Regions from separate parts of the Homo sapiens genome. Here all the other regions are linked to region 1. The links are contacts of gene promoters, found by promoter capture Hi-C in blood cells and fetal thymus (Javierre and others, 2016). All regions are on one chromosome and are shown on one strand. The core of a region is centred on a gene start or on the middle of the fragment in contact, and the rest is flanking DNA. Distances in the headings are between cores, read along the strand shown.

Region 1 (2,912 bases), core at 135-2,634:
AACTTGGCGTAACAAAACAATTATAAATTCCAAATTTAATGCTAAATGACATTCACATTTCAGTAATTCGTTCTTCACTGCAGTGCATAAAGTTATAGAGCTATTAAAAGACGAGTTAATTATGAATAAACCGTTATTAAACACAAATAGTTGAAGAAATACACCTCAAATTAACAACAGCCACAAACATTGATTTGGTCCATGTAATGAGTATGAGCAGAACCGTAGAGGCAGGGAGTTCACTGTAAATCTACAAGATTTCAGTAATAAAACAGGAGAATATGGAGCAAAATAGCCTAGAGCAACAGAGAATATATGAGTTAATAAACGTTCTCAAAGTCGTGTAGATTTTAGCCTAAGAAGACAACAAAGGGAAGAAACCAAGGACTGAACGTCTATTTTCTTTGAAACTAATGGATTTTTTTTAAACTTACATTATTTCACACTAGATCCCCTACCAAGACTGCCATAAAGAAAAATTAAACCTCTATTCAGCTCAAAAGTTTACGTTTCAGGAACGTACTAACACCAGTAACCGTGAACATCAGGTGGTTTCTCTTTGTTGCTTATCGATGACACAGCTTTCTTCCCGACAGTCCACAACTAATTACAACCCAACTGCTTGCCTAATGGCCCGTTCCTACCTCCATCTAAACAGCAGTAACGAAACGGGCGTTCAAGCAGCACAAAGAGGGTCCTTGGTGACAGAGAGGGACGTCAGGGAGAGGGTCGCGGGGGTCTGGCTGCGCAGGGGAGAGGCTCGGGGCGACGAGCGGGGCTGGGCGGCTGGGGCCTGCTGGCCGCGTCCGTCGCCCCGAGCGGGGAGATTTCGGCGGGCCTCGGGGCGCTTTGGAGACCAGGGCCAGACGGTGCCTCCGGCCCGGCTGCCGGGAGACGCAGCGGTGGGGCCAGGCCCACTGTATCTCAAACGAACCGGGGAGGCGCTGAACAGCCACGGGCCGGCAGCCCGGGCCTCGCAGACACTGAGGAAAGGCTGGGGGCGCCCGGGGCCTGAAGGAGCAGGGCGCTGAGGGTCTGCATGGCCCCTCTGGGGGATCTGGCGGCGGAGTCGCAGCCGTCCCTGGGGCGCGGGGTAGTAGTGGCAATTGTGCGAGCCGACAGGAGCCCGCGTCTCGGGGAGGGCGGGCCGGCGGCTGAGGTATACAAGAGGATGAAGGTAGGCCGGAGGGGTGTCCCGGCCGCCTCTCGAACCCCTGCCTCCTTCACCTGCCACGAACACCACGAAGACCGCGCCGCTCCTTTTGGCCGTCGCGATGGCGGCCGGAATGGCGCCCTGGAACCACAGCATCGCTCCCTTCGGGCCCAGGCGCTCGCTCGGTGTGTAGTCTCCGCAGTCCCGAAGCCGGCTCCGCCCTCCGTCTTCGTCCGGCTCTGCGGCCCCCGCAACCTTGGCTGGTTCGGCCCCCACCTCCGGCTCCGCACAAGCGCGCACGCCCGTCAGCGGCACCCGGAGACGCGCGCTAGCGCGCGCGAGAACACCTCACGTCACAGTCGCAACCCGTCGGTGTCCGTGCCCCAGGACCTTCTCTCGTTGGCGAGTCGATGGTGCGGGCGCGCGCCCGCTAGGCCTCCGGTCGCGCAGTCCAGGAAGTGGAGGAAAGCGGTAAGAGGGATGACTAACCGCTAAGACACGTCGGCGGCGCCTGCAGTGAGGCATGATGGGAATTGTAGTCCACTTAGGCTTATTCGCCTCCATATTGTGGAGCATGTAACTGTGGGTTCTGAGGCACAGCTAAAGGGGGCAGTAGTGAGGGCCACTACACATTCTATAAAGGGGAGAGGGAGAAATAAGTGTCACTCCAACTGGCATATGCTATTCTCGGCCTCGTTGAGACTCTCAGTGTGGAGGAAATAGTCCTCGCATGGAACTAAATGGGCTTTGTCGGGATTAACTCCGAGGCTTTGATTTCTTCTGAACGTAGCCCAACCTTGCAGAAAAACGGGATAAAAACCGCAAGTCACCTTCTTTAATAACCTGTAGTCCATGTGCCTAAGCGGAGGAATTGGTAGAACGCAGGCCTTCAGCAATTTCCTAGACACTGGATAGAGATCATTTCAAAACTTCAAAACGCGTTAGGCTATTGCCACAGCTACTTTTTAAAGTAACACAAAGCAGAGAATAGATTATTTCTTTTCCAGCTACTTTCCATGGTAATACAAAAGAGACTAGATAGTGATTTATTTTCCAATTTTCTGGGAGAATGTCCTATAATCAAGATGTGGCGCTTTGTGATTGGCTGCCATTAAATGAAAACTGATCCATATTTAATACTTTCATGAAATCACATGGTCTGTAATAACTATTAGCTAAAGGCTTGCATGGTTTATTTAAAGTTGCATATACTATTATGTTAAATTCTACATCAATTAAATTTATCCTCCAGCAGTACATCTATCTGACAATCTTTGCAAGATAAAGGAAGTGATACATCTGAATATACCACCTTTCCTACAGATATTTTCCCTAAAAATAGCTAATTATTTGCACTCCGATTTTTGTACTTTTTTTCCCAATCAGGCCTCTCGTATATAGTGTTATTATAAACTGAGACATAATGCTGATTAGGGACAGTTGCTTCTATAGGACAACAATCCTACAGAAAAATTAGAATTGACCTTTAACATCAACTTTAATGGACTTCTGGAAATTTGATCAATCTAGAAATTATTCCAATAGAGCTATGTCTTTAATTATCTCTAATTTTAGAATTAAATAAGAATCCTTCATAGTTTTATATTCATTTGTCAAGTGTTTATCACTCATCTTTTATGAGCTAGGCATTGTGCCTGGCACTGATAAGGAGGTGAGGCAGTCAGAAGAAGGCCCTGTCTTTGTGACTGTACAGTCTAGTCAGGAAGACAGACATTGAATAAGTAATTATGAGTGATGA
Region 2 (2,912 bases), core at 237-2,736, 600 kb after region 1:
ATATGATAAGTGATATCTACATCAGGTGCCTTCAATGACTATCATATGCTTTCTTTCTGAGGTTGGGAACAAGAGAATAATGTCCAGTATTCAACACTGTACTGGAGGTCCTAGCCACTGCAATAAGATAAGAAAAGTAATTCAAAAGCATAAAGATTGCAAAATCAGAATTCAAATCATCTTTACTAAAAGACGACATGATTGTGTATGTAGAAAACTCCAAATAATCTCTAAACTACTAATAAGTCAATGTAGCAAGATTGTTATATCCAAGGTCAATATATAAAAATCAACTGTTTATATCTATCAAGGGAAAAAAATTGGAAAATGAACTTTTAAAATACCATTTATAAAACCATTTAAGAAATTACAAATACCTTGGAAATATATCTAATGAAAGATATGTAAGACCTCTACATTGAAAACTAAAACACTAATGAGATAAATGAACAGAAACTTTAAATAAAATTGAAGATATTTAATGGACTCAATATTAAGATGTCAATTCTCCATAAATTGATCTACAAATTCAATGCAATCTGAATTAAAATCCCAGCAAGATTTTGAATATGTGTTTGTTTATAAAAATTAACAAGCTGATTCTCAAATTGATATAACAATGCAAAGGACCTAGAATAGCTAAGATAATGTTGAAGAGTAACAAAGTTAGAAGATTTACACTACCAGATAGACTTATTATAAAGCTACAATAATGATGACAGTACATTACTGGCACACGACAGAGACCAACGGAACAGAATAAATAGTCCAGAAATAGACCAAAACACATACAGTTGCTTGATTTACATCAAAGATATCACTGCCACTCAATGGGAAAAGGCAGATCTTTTCAACAGTGGTGGTGGAACAATTCAATCTCCCTATAGAGAAAAGAGAATCTTAACCTGTTCCTCTTACCAAACAATTAATTTGAGGTGGGTCACAAACAAATGATATAGGTAAAACAATAAAGCTTCCAAAAGAAAAGAAAATATCTTCAGTACTTGGTAAAGAGTTCTTAAGCAGAACACAAAAAGCACTAACCACATAAGAAAAACAAGGATAGATGAGACTGTATTAAAATTAAGAACACCTCTTCAACCCAAGGCATCATTAAGAAAGTGAACAGGCCAGGCGCGGTGGCTCACACCTATAATCCCAGCACTTTGGGAGGCCCAGACAGGCAGATCACGAGGTCAGGAGTTCGAGACCAGCCTGGCCAACATAGTGAAACCCCATCTCTACTAAAAATACAAAAAATTAGCCAGGTATGGTGGCACACTCCTGTAGTCCCAGCTACTCGGGAGGCTGAGGCAGGAGAATCGCTTGAACCCGGAAGACTCAGGCTGCAGTGAGCCGAGACCACACCACTGCACTCCAGCCTGGATGACAGAGTGAGACTGTCTCAAAAAAAAAAAAAAAAGAAGTAAGTGAATAGATAAGCAACAAAATATTTGCAATACAAGTATCTAAGGACTCATATCCAGAATATATGAAGAATTCCTATAAAGTAATAAGAAAAAAAAAGACAACTGCTTTAAGAAAAAAATAGGCAAAGGCCTTGAACAGGCTTTTCACCAAGAAGATAGACAAATGGGCAATAAATATATATATGCTTCAGGAAAATGTAAAACCACAAGATCCTACCTCCTACCCTTCAGAAAGGCAAAAATTAAAATGACCAAAAATATCAAGTGTGCAGAAAAGAGTTAATATTGCAGGTCTGAGACTGCCATTCTTAGAAAGGCCTGCTTGAAAGTTGGCCCTTGGCTGGCAGCTGAGAACCTGGATTTTGAGAAGGTTCCCACCATTCCCAGAACTGATAAAAATGACTCACTATGCCTAAACACTTTGTGCAAATAATATGGTTTATGCTAAACACCTACTTTCTTTATGGGAGTCTAGATTTTGGTATGGTTAACCCTATGCCTAAGCAAAGGATGCCTACTTGACCAGCCCCTACTGATAACTCCCACTGCTGTGCCTCTAACAAGCTTCCCAGGGAAGACAACATTTCACACATGTGGTCACAATTTGTTGCAACAGGAATTAAGTGCACTCTGTGTAACTACAGTAGGGGAAGCTTTTTGGAAGCTTAAACCTCATCTCTTTCAAACTTCATCCCATGTGCCTTTTCTCTTTGCTGATCTTCTTGTAATAAATTATAGCCACGAGCATGATTATGGGCTAAGTCTTATGAGTCTTCCTAGAAAATCACTAAACCTGGGAGTGGTCTTGAGAACACATCAAATGGGGAGGATTCTGTAGAATAACTATACTACTATAAATTGTTGGTGAGAAGGTTAACTAGTTCAACCACTTAGACAGACTATTTAGATAGATCTACTAAAGCCAAAACATATTTGCACCATATAGCCCAATAACTCTACTCTTAGGAATATATCCAAAAGAAAATGAGTGCCTTTGTCTACCAAAAGAAACAAGAATGTTCACAGCAGCTTTATTCATATTAGCCCAAAGTGAAAACAACCCAAATACCCATCAACGGGTGAATGGATAAACAAATTGTGACAAATTCATAGAATAGAATACTAATAACACATGCACAAACACTGAAGCCTGCAACAACAAGGATGACTCTCAAAATCGGTAAATAAAAAAGCTCAATGGTATATAATGTATGATTATACAACGAAAGAGTACACAATGTATGATTACATTTATATACAAAAGAGTAAGCAAAGCATGCCATTTAAAAGGTTCAAAAACTGACAAAGCTAACCTATGGTGACAAAAGTTAAGAGAAAGAGTTGCTGGAGGGGAATCCTGGGCTTCACTATCCAATACATCTGGCTATTTAATTTAAATAAATTAAAATTAAAAATTTAATTCCTTAGAAACATTAGCCACATTTCAAGCACTCAGTAGTTACATTTGGATAATGGCTATTG
Region 3 (2,912 bases), core at 1-2,500, 580 kb after region 1:
CTTTCTTATGTAATACACACAAATAAGGAAAATACAAAGAAAATAAAAACTACCGACTGATTACAATACCAAGAGAAAACAACCATTGACAGTGGAGCATTTTCATTTTAAGACGCAGAATACACGTACTAAGGGCACTAATATTAAATATGTAAAATACTGCCTTTTAACCTGCTTTTCTCACTTAATATTTCTAAACATTGTTAGTGACTTCCCACACATTTTTTGGTTTTAGTTGTTTTGGTTTATTTTTTTTCCAATTCTTATTATAAGAATACAGAGAAGTATGTACAAAACATGGACCCTACCTTTAGGCTCCTTATTCAACAGTAAAGATAAAAGAAGTATAACCCTATAAATATGTACAATTCTTTTACATCAATAAAAATTTTAAGAAGTATAATCTCATAATGTGAGTCTGACTGATAAATGCTCATGGATTTCAAAATTTTAAAAAAAATACAGGTGATGCAGAAATTTTCCTGAAATCCTACTTCCCCAAAACCACATTTTCGTGTTTATCCTCTCAAACTACTTGTATGTCCATTTAAACACAAAAATGTAGATGCATATGTAATTTCTTAACAAAAATTAATAACTTACATACTGTTTTATTATTTGCTTTATTTAATGACTTGTGGTGGACTTTTTTTTGGCTTAGAGAGTTTTGTCTGATTTGAAACTTTTTTTAAATTAAGAAATATACATACTAGAGTATTAGAAATAGTTTAAAGAAAACACCAGCTTAGGAAACAGAATGTTACCAGGCTTTTCCAAGTCCTCCTGTGTACCCTCCATCCCCAGAATTAACTACAAATCATTCTTTTGCTTTTCTTTATGGTTTTTTTCACATATGTAGCCTTAAATAATATATTGTTTACTTTTGTCTAGTTTTAACCTTTATATTAATGGAGTGTTTCTGTTTATAGCCCTCAGTGACTTGCTTTTTTTCATTCAGTATTTTGATATTCGTATACCATTCCAATATGCTATAGTTTACTCATTTTCACTGCTGTATTAAAATGTTCCTACACTAATAGTAGTGGATAGCTCCTCAGTTTTTGGCTATTACAAATGATGCTCCTATTACATTATTGCACATATTTCCTGGTGCAAATGGGACATGTACAGCAATTACTTTAGGATATATACCTAACAATTGAACTAGGAAATGTACAACATAATTATCCTACAAAGTGTTTCAACAGATTTACATTCTTATCTAGAGTAATGAGTTCCCTCTGTTGTACATCCTTGCTAATACCCACCTTTCTGAATTTTGTTTTCCCCTGATTCACAGAAAAACAAATTTGCAGGAATAACGTGAAATATGTGATTCCCCTTTACCTGGATTCACGTATGACCTGTCTCCCTCCTCTGTTCTGGATCCCTTGCATCTTTCTCTGCTTTCATGTGTGTACATACTATAGACATAAACTTGTTTCGAATAATTTCAGAATAAGTCGCACACTCATGTCCCTTATCCCAAAATATCTGTATTTCCTAAAATTAAAAATATTTTATTATATAATCAAAATGCAAATGATTCTGATTATATACAATAAATTTAACACTGATAAAAATAATTGTAATCTAACCTACTATCTTTATTGCAGTTTTGTCAACTGATCCCATATGTGTCTTTTTTTTTTTTTTTTTTTTTTTTTTGAGACAGGGTCTTTCTCTGTTGGCCCAGACTGGAGTGCAGTGGTGCGATCTTGGCTCCCCACAACCTCCGCCTCCCAGGCTCAAGCGATTCTCCTGCCTCAGCCTCCTGAGTAGCTAAGACTACAGGCACATGGCCACTACTGCCCGGCCAATTTTTGTATTTTTAGTAAAGACGGAGTTTCACTATGTTGGCCAGGCTGGTCTCGAACTCCTGACCTCAAATTATCCACCTACCTCAACCTCCCAAAGTGCTGAGATTACAGGCATGAGCCACCGCGCCCGGCCGCAAAATGTGTCTTTTATGACCCTTTCCCTCAACCACTACAAGTCTTGGTAAGGATCATCCATTGCCTTTAGTTATCATAGCTCTTTAATCTCAACTAATCTGCAACAGCTTTTCACTCTGTCTTTTATAACATTGGCATTTTGAGTATAGTTTCCTCTTCCTCCCTACTTTTTGGCTAACTAAAATTCCATACTGTATTCAGATTTCCTTAGTTTCTAAAAATTGAGTTATAACTCACATACCATAAAATTCACCACTTTAAAATGGATAACTTCAGTGGTTTTTAGCATATTTGCAAGGTTATGTTACCATCACCATTATCTAATTCCAGAATATTTTCTTTCATCTCCCCCAAAAGAAACCCAGTACCCCAAAGCAGCCACTCCTGATTTCCCCCATTCCTAATCTCCACTGCTGCCAACTACTAATCTAACTTACTGTCTCTATGGACTTGCCTATTCTGGTCCTTTCATATAAATGGAACGACGCAACATGCAGCCCATTGTTTTCTGGCTGCTTTCACTGAGCATAATATTTTCAAGATTCACCCATGTTGTAACACATATCAGTGCTTCATTCCTTTTTATGGCTGAATAATACTCCATTGCATGGACAGACCATATTTGTCTTATCTGTTCATCACTGACAGACATTTGGGTTTGTTCCATTTTTTGGCTGTCATGAATAATGCTGTCAGCATGTATGTATGTACGCGGTTTCCTTAGTTTTTATCTAATGTCATTTTCCTGTTCCAGGATCCCCTTCAAGATACCACATTATGTTTAGCTGTCATGTTTCTAGGCTCCCTTGGCTGTGACATTTCTCAGGTTTTCATTGTTTTTACTGACCTTGACAGTTTTGAGTTCTGGTCAAGTATTTCATAAAAACTCCCTCAATTATGGTTTATCTGATGTTTTCCTCATGATTAAGCTGGGTTATGTATTTCTGGGAGGAAGAC
Region 4 (2,912 bases), core at 201-2,700, 520 kb after region 1:
GGATCACCTGAGGTCAGGAGTTTGAGAGCAGCCTGGCCAACGTGGTGAAACCCCCCACCTCTACTAAAAATATGAAAATTAGCTGGGTGTGGTAGCAAGTGCCTTTAATCGTAGCTACTCAGGAGGCTGAGGCAGGAGAATCGCTTGAACCTGGGAGGCAGAGGTTGCAGTGAGCCAAGATCGCGCCACTGCACTCCAGCCTGGGTGACAAAATGAGACTCTGTCTCAAAAAAAAAAAAATGTTTTTTTCATTTATTCACTTAAATGTGAATAATTAACAATTACATTTTTCTATTTCTGTTTTGTATTTTTTGTTTTTTTTAGGACAGTCTCGCTCCGTTGCCCAGGCTAGAGTGCAGTGGTGCAATCTCGGCTCACTGCAACCTCTGCCTCCTGGGTTCAAACGATTCTCCTGCCTCAGCCTCCAGGTAGCTGGGACTACAGGTGCCCACCACCATGCCTGGCTAATTTTTGTATTTTTAGTAGAGATGATGTTTCACCATATTGGCCAAGCTTGTCTCGACCTCTTGACCTTGTGATCCACCCACCTCAGCCTCCCGAAGTGCGGGGATTACAGGTGTGAGCCACCCACCTGGCCGTTTTTTGTTTGTTTGTTTGTTTTTGGAGAGAGAGGGTCTTGCTGTGTTGCCCAGACTGGTCTCAAACTCCTGGGTTCAAACAGTCCGCCCGCCTCAGCCTCCTAAAGTGCTAGGATTATAGGCGTGAGCCACTATGCCTGGCCAACAATTATTTTTAAGTGAGTAAATGCATATTTTAAGAGAAACAAACCCATTATATATATATAAAAATAACATTTTTTATTTAAAATAATTATATTTTCCAAGTCAAAAAAATATTTAGTGAGAAGAATGTCATTGTTTTAAATGTTTAGCAATTTTCTCTAAAGTCTTAATGGAAAACAGTGGGATTCCCATATCCATCTCTGCGTTCAGTTTGTTGAGATAGCATTTCATGTAGCCACTGGAAAAAGTCACCATACATTTGTGAAAGAATGAGAGTGGAAAAGGCAAACAGTATCTTACTATTAGTATGAAAACACTTATGACTTTCTGAAAGGATCACAGGAACCATGTGAGAATCTATGGCCTGGATAGATTATGAATACTTTTATTTGGTCTAAAATTTTAAATTTCTTTTTTTTTTTTTTTGAGACTGAGTCTAGCTCTGTCACCCAGGCTGGAGTGCAGTGGTGCGATCTCGGTTCACTGCAACCTCTGCCTCCCAGGTTCAAGTGATTCTCCTGCCTCAGCCTCCCGAATAGCTGGGATTGCAGCACCCACCACCACACCTAGCTAATTTTTCTATTTTTAGTAGAGACAGGGTTCCACTGTGTTGTCTAGCCTGGTCTTGAACTCCTGACTTCGTGATCTGCCTGCCTCAGCCTCCCAAAGTGCTGGGATTACAAACGTGAGCCACCACGCCCAGCCTAAAATTTTAAATTTCTAATCTTTATAAGTATATAAGATAGTATTTGAAACTTTTAAAACTCATGGTCCATTATATCGATGTTTAAAAGATAATATGTTGGAGATGACCAAACTTTCAGTTACAGGTTTTCTACTAAACCGAATATAGATATAGATAGATAGTGTACCATGTAATAATATTCTTTTAGGAGGAGATGGCTAGGATTTTGAATACCAGAATCCCCAAGCAGCCTCTAGCATGGACAATAACTGAGAGAGAGACACCAAGAACCAAGCCAGGCAGTAATCAATGCTCCTCTTATAGGTTTGGAGCCTGGTCTACCAAGTGGAGCCTCTGACATGGTGAACCAGGCTGCAGGGAGCACCAATGACTCCTTTATTCATCTTGAGGCAGGTTTAAGTGCCTGAGCCACCCTCATGCCCCATGTTGGGGGATCTTTAGGCCATGCCTCTTTCTCAGACCATCACATGAGAGGGACAGAGAAATGGTCCCAAGAGGGTAGAGAAACCAAAGGACAGACACCAGGCAGAGCATACCACAGAAATCCAGAAGCCCTTAAATTCTTTAATCTTTTTTTACTCTATACAATGAAAGCTCTGCCTCTTGGATTACCTGATCAATGTTTTATCCCCGTTGGGGTGGAGACGGAGAGAACTGCAAGCTCCTGGTAGAGGGTATAATGCACCTGCTGCCAAACCAAACCACAGCGACCACCTCACTGACCCGTATTCAGGCTCTGCCACCAGCCTAGTAGCCTGCTTCTTCTTGACATCTCTGTTAATGGTCTCAAATATATTTTTATGACTGTTCTAAATACTTACATGTCCCTTTACCATAAAATGTTATCACCCAAATAATTTTCCAAACACAAGACACTAAGCAGATGAGTTGTTGACATATCTTTTCACAACCAGAGTAGAGCTGAGATGAAAGCTTTCCTTTTCACCTTAAAAGAGCTGAAGTAAGGCTGGGCACAGTGGCTCACACCTGTAATCCCAACACTCTGGGAGGCCGAGGCAGGCGGATCACCTGAGGTCAGGAATTCGTGACCAGCCTGGCCAATATGGTGAAACCCCGACTCTACTAAAAATACAAAAATTATCTGGGCATGGTGGCAGGCACCAGTAATCCCAGCTACTTGGGAGGCTGAGGCAGGAGAATCGCTTGAACCCGGGAGGTACAGGTTGCAGTGAGCCAAGATCGTGCCACTGCACTCCAGCCTGGGCAAAAGAGTGTGACTCTGTCTCAAAAAAAAAAAAAAAATAAATTCCTAGTTCACTGCCTAAAAGGATATCCCTTTAAAGGAAGAGTAGTAACAGACATTTAGCATCCTGTGTCATATTAGAACTGTTCATTTCAGCTAGAATCCCAAGTCTATATCAGGGTTTAGAATTACATATCAATTTTTTTTTTTTTTTTTTTTTGAGATGGAGTCTCTCTCTGCCACCCAGGCTGGAGTGCAG

What was found. The method cuts DNA at HindIII sites, captures the fragments that hold promoters and counts their contacts. A CHiCAGO score of 5 or more calls a contact.
Region 2: a fragment that was not itself captured here is called in contact with the fragment with the promoter of UBXN4 in region 1 in 9 of 17 cell types (M0 macrophages, naive CD4 T cells, activated CD4 T cells and 6 more); the score reaches 8.1 in M0 macrophages.
Region 3: a fragment that was not itself captured here is called in contact with the fragment with the promoter of UBXN4 in region 1 in 3 of 17 cell types (non-activated CD4 T cells, erythroblasts and naive CD8 T cells); the score reaches 7.0 in non-activated CD4 T cells.
Region 4: a contact is called between a fragment that was not itself captured here and the fragment with the promoter of UBXN4 in region 1, in 1 of 17 cell types (erythroblasts). The highest score is 5.4, in erythroblasts.

What each region holds. Positions count from the first base shown.
Region 1 is chr2:135,740,327-135,743,238 of GRCh38, reverse strand. It overlaps UBXN4 (UBX domain protein 4), which reads right to left and starts at 1,384. Exons shown (of 13, transcript NM_014607.4): 1 at 1,228-1,384. The coding sequence starts at 1,309. It overlaps LOC107985946 (a long non-coding RNA gene), which reads left to right and starts at 595. Exons shown (of 1, transcript NR_163478.1): 1 at 595-2,410. RefSeq lists a silencer at 797-846 and enhancers at 143-918, 1,247-1,306, 1,637-1,766. The HindIII fragment of the contact is 10,462 bases long and covers 1-2,912 here.
Region 2 is chr2:135,139,740-135,142,651 of GRCh38, reverse strand. All of the region lies in intron 17 of RAB3GAP1 (RAB3 GTPase activating protein catalytic subunit 1), which reads right to left. Among named protein-coding and RNA genes, the nearest start is that of SNORA40B, 4.6 kb to the right of the region's middle. The HindIII fragment of the contact is 1,021 bases long and covers 976-1,996 here.
Region 3 is chr2:135,159,431-135,162,342 of GRCh38, reverse strand. The region is part of intron 19 of RAB3GAP1 (RAB3 GTPase activating protein catalytic subunit 1); the gene reads right to left. Among named protein-coding and RNA genes, the nearest start is that of SNORA40B, 24 kb to the right of the region's middle. The HindIII fragment of the contact is 6,425 bases long and covers 1-2,912 here.
Region 4 is chr2:135,220,659-135,223,570 of GRCh38, reverse strand. All of the region lies in intron 15 of ZRANB3 (zinc finger RANBP2-type containing 3), which reads left to right. Among named protein-coding and RNA genes, the nearest start is that of SNORA40B, 85 kb to the right of the region's middle. RefSeq lists a silencer at 66-230. The HindIII fragment of the contact is 1,869 bases long and covers 516-2,384 here.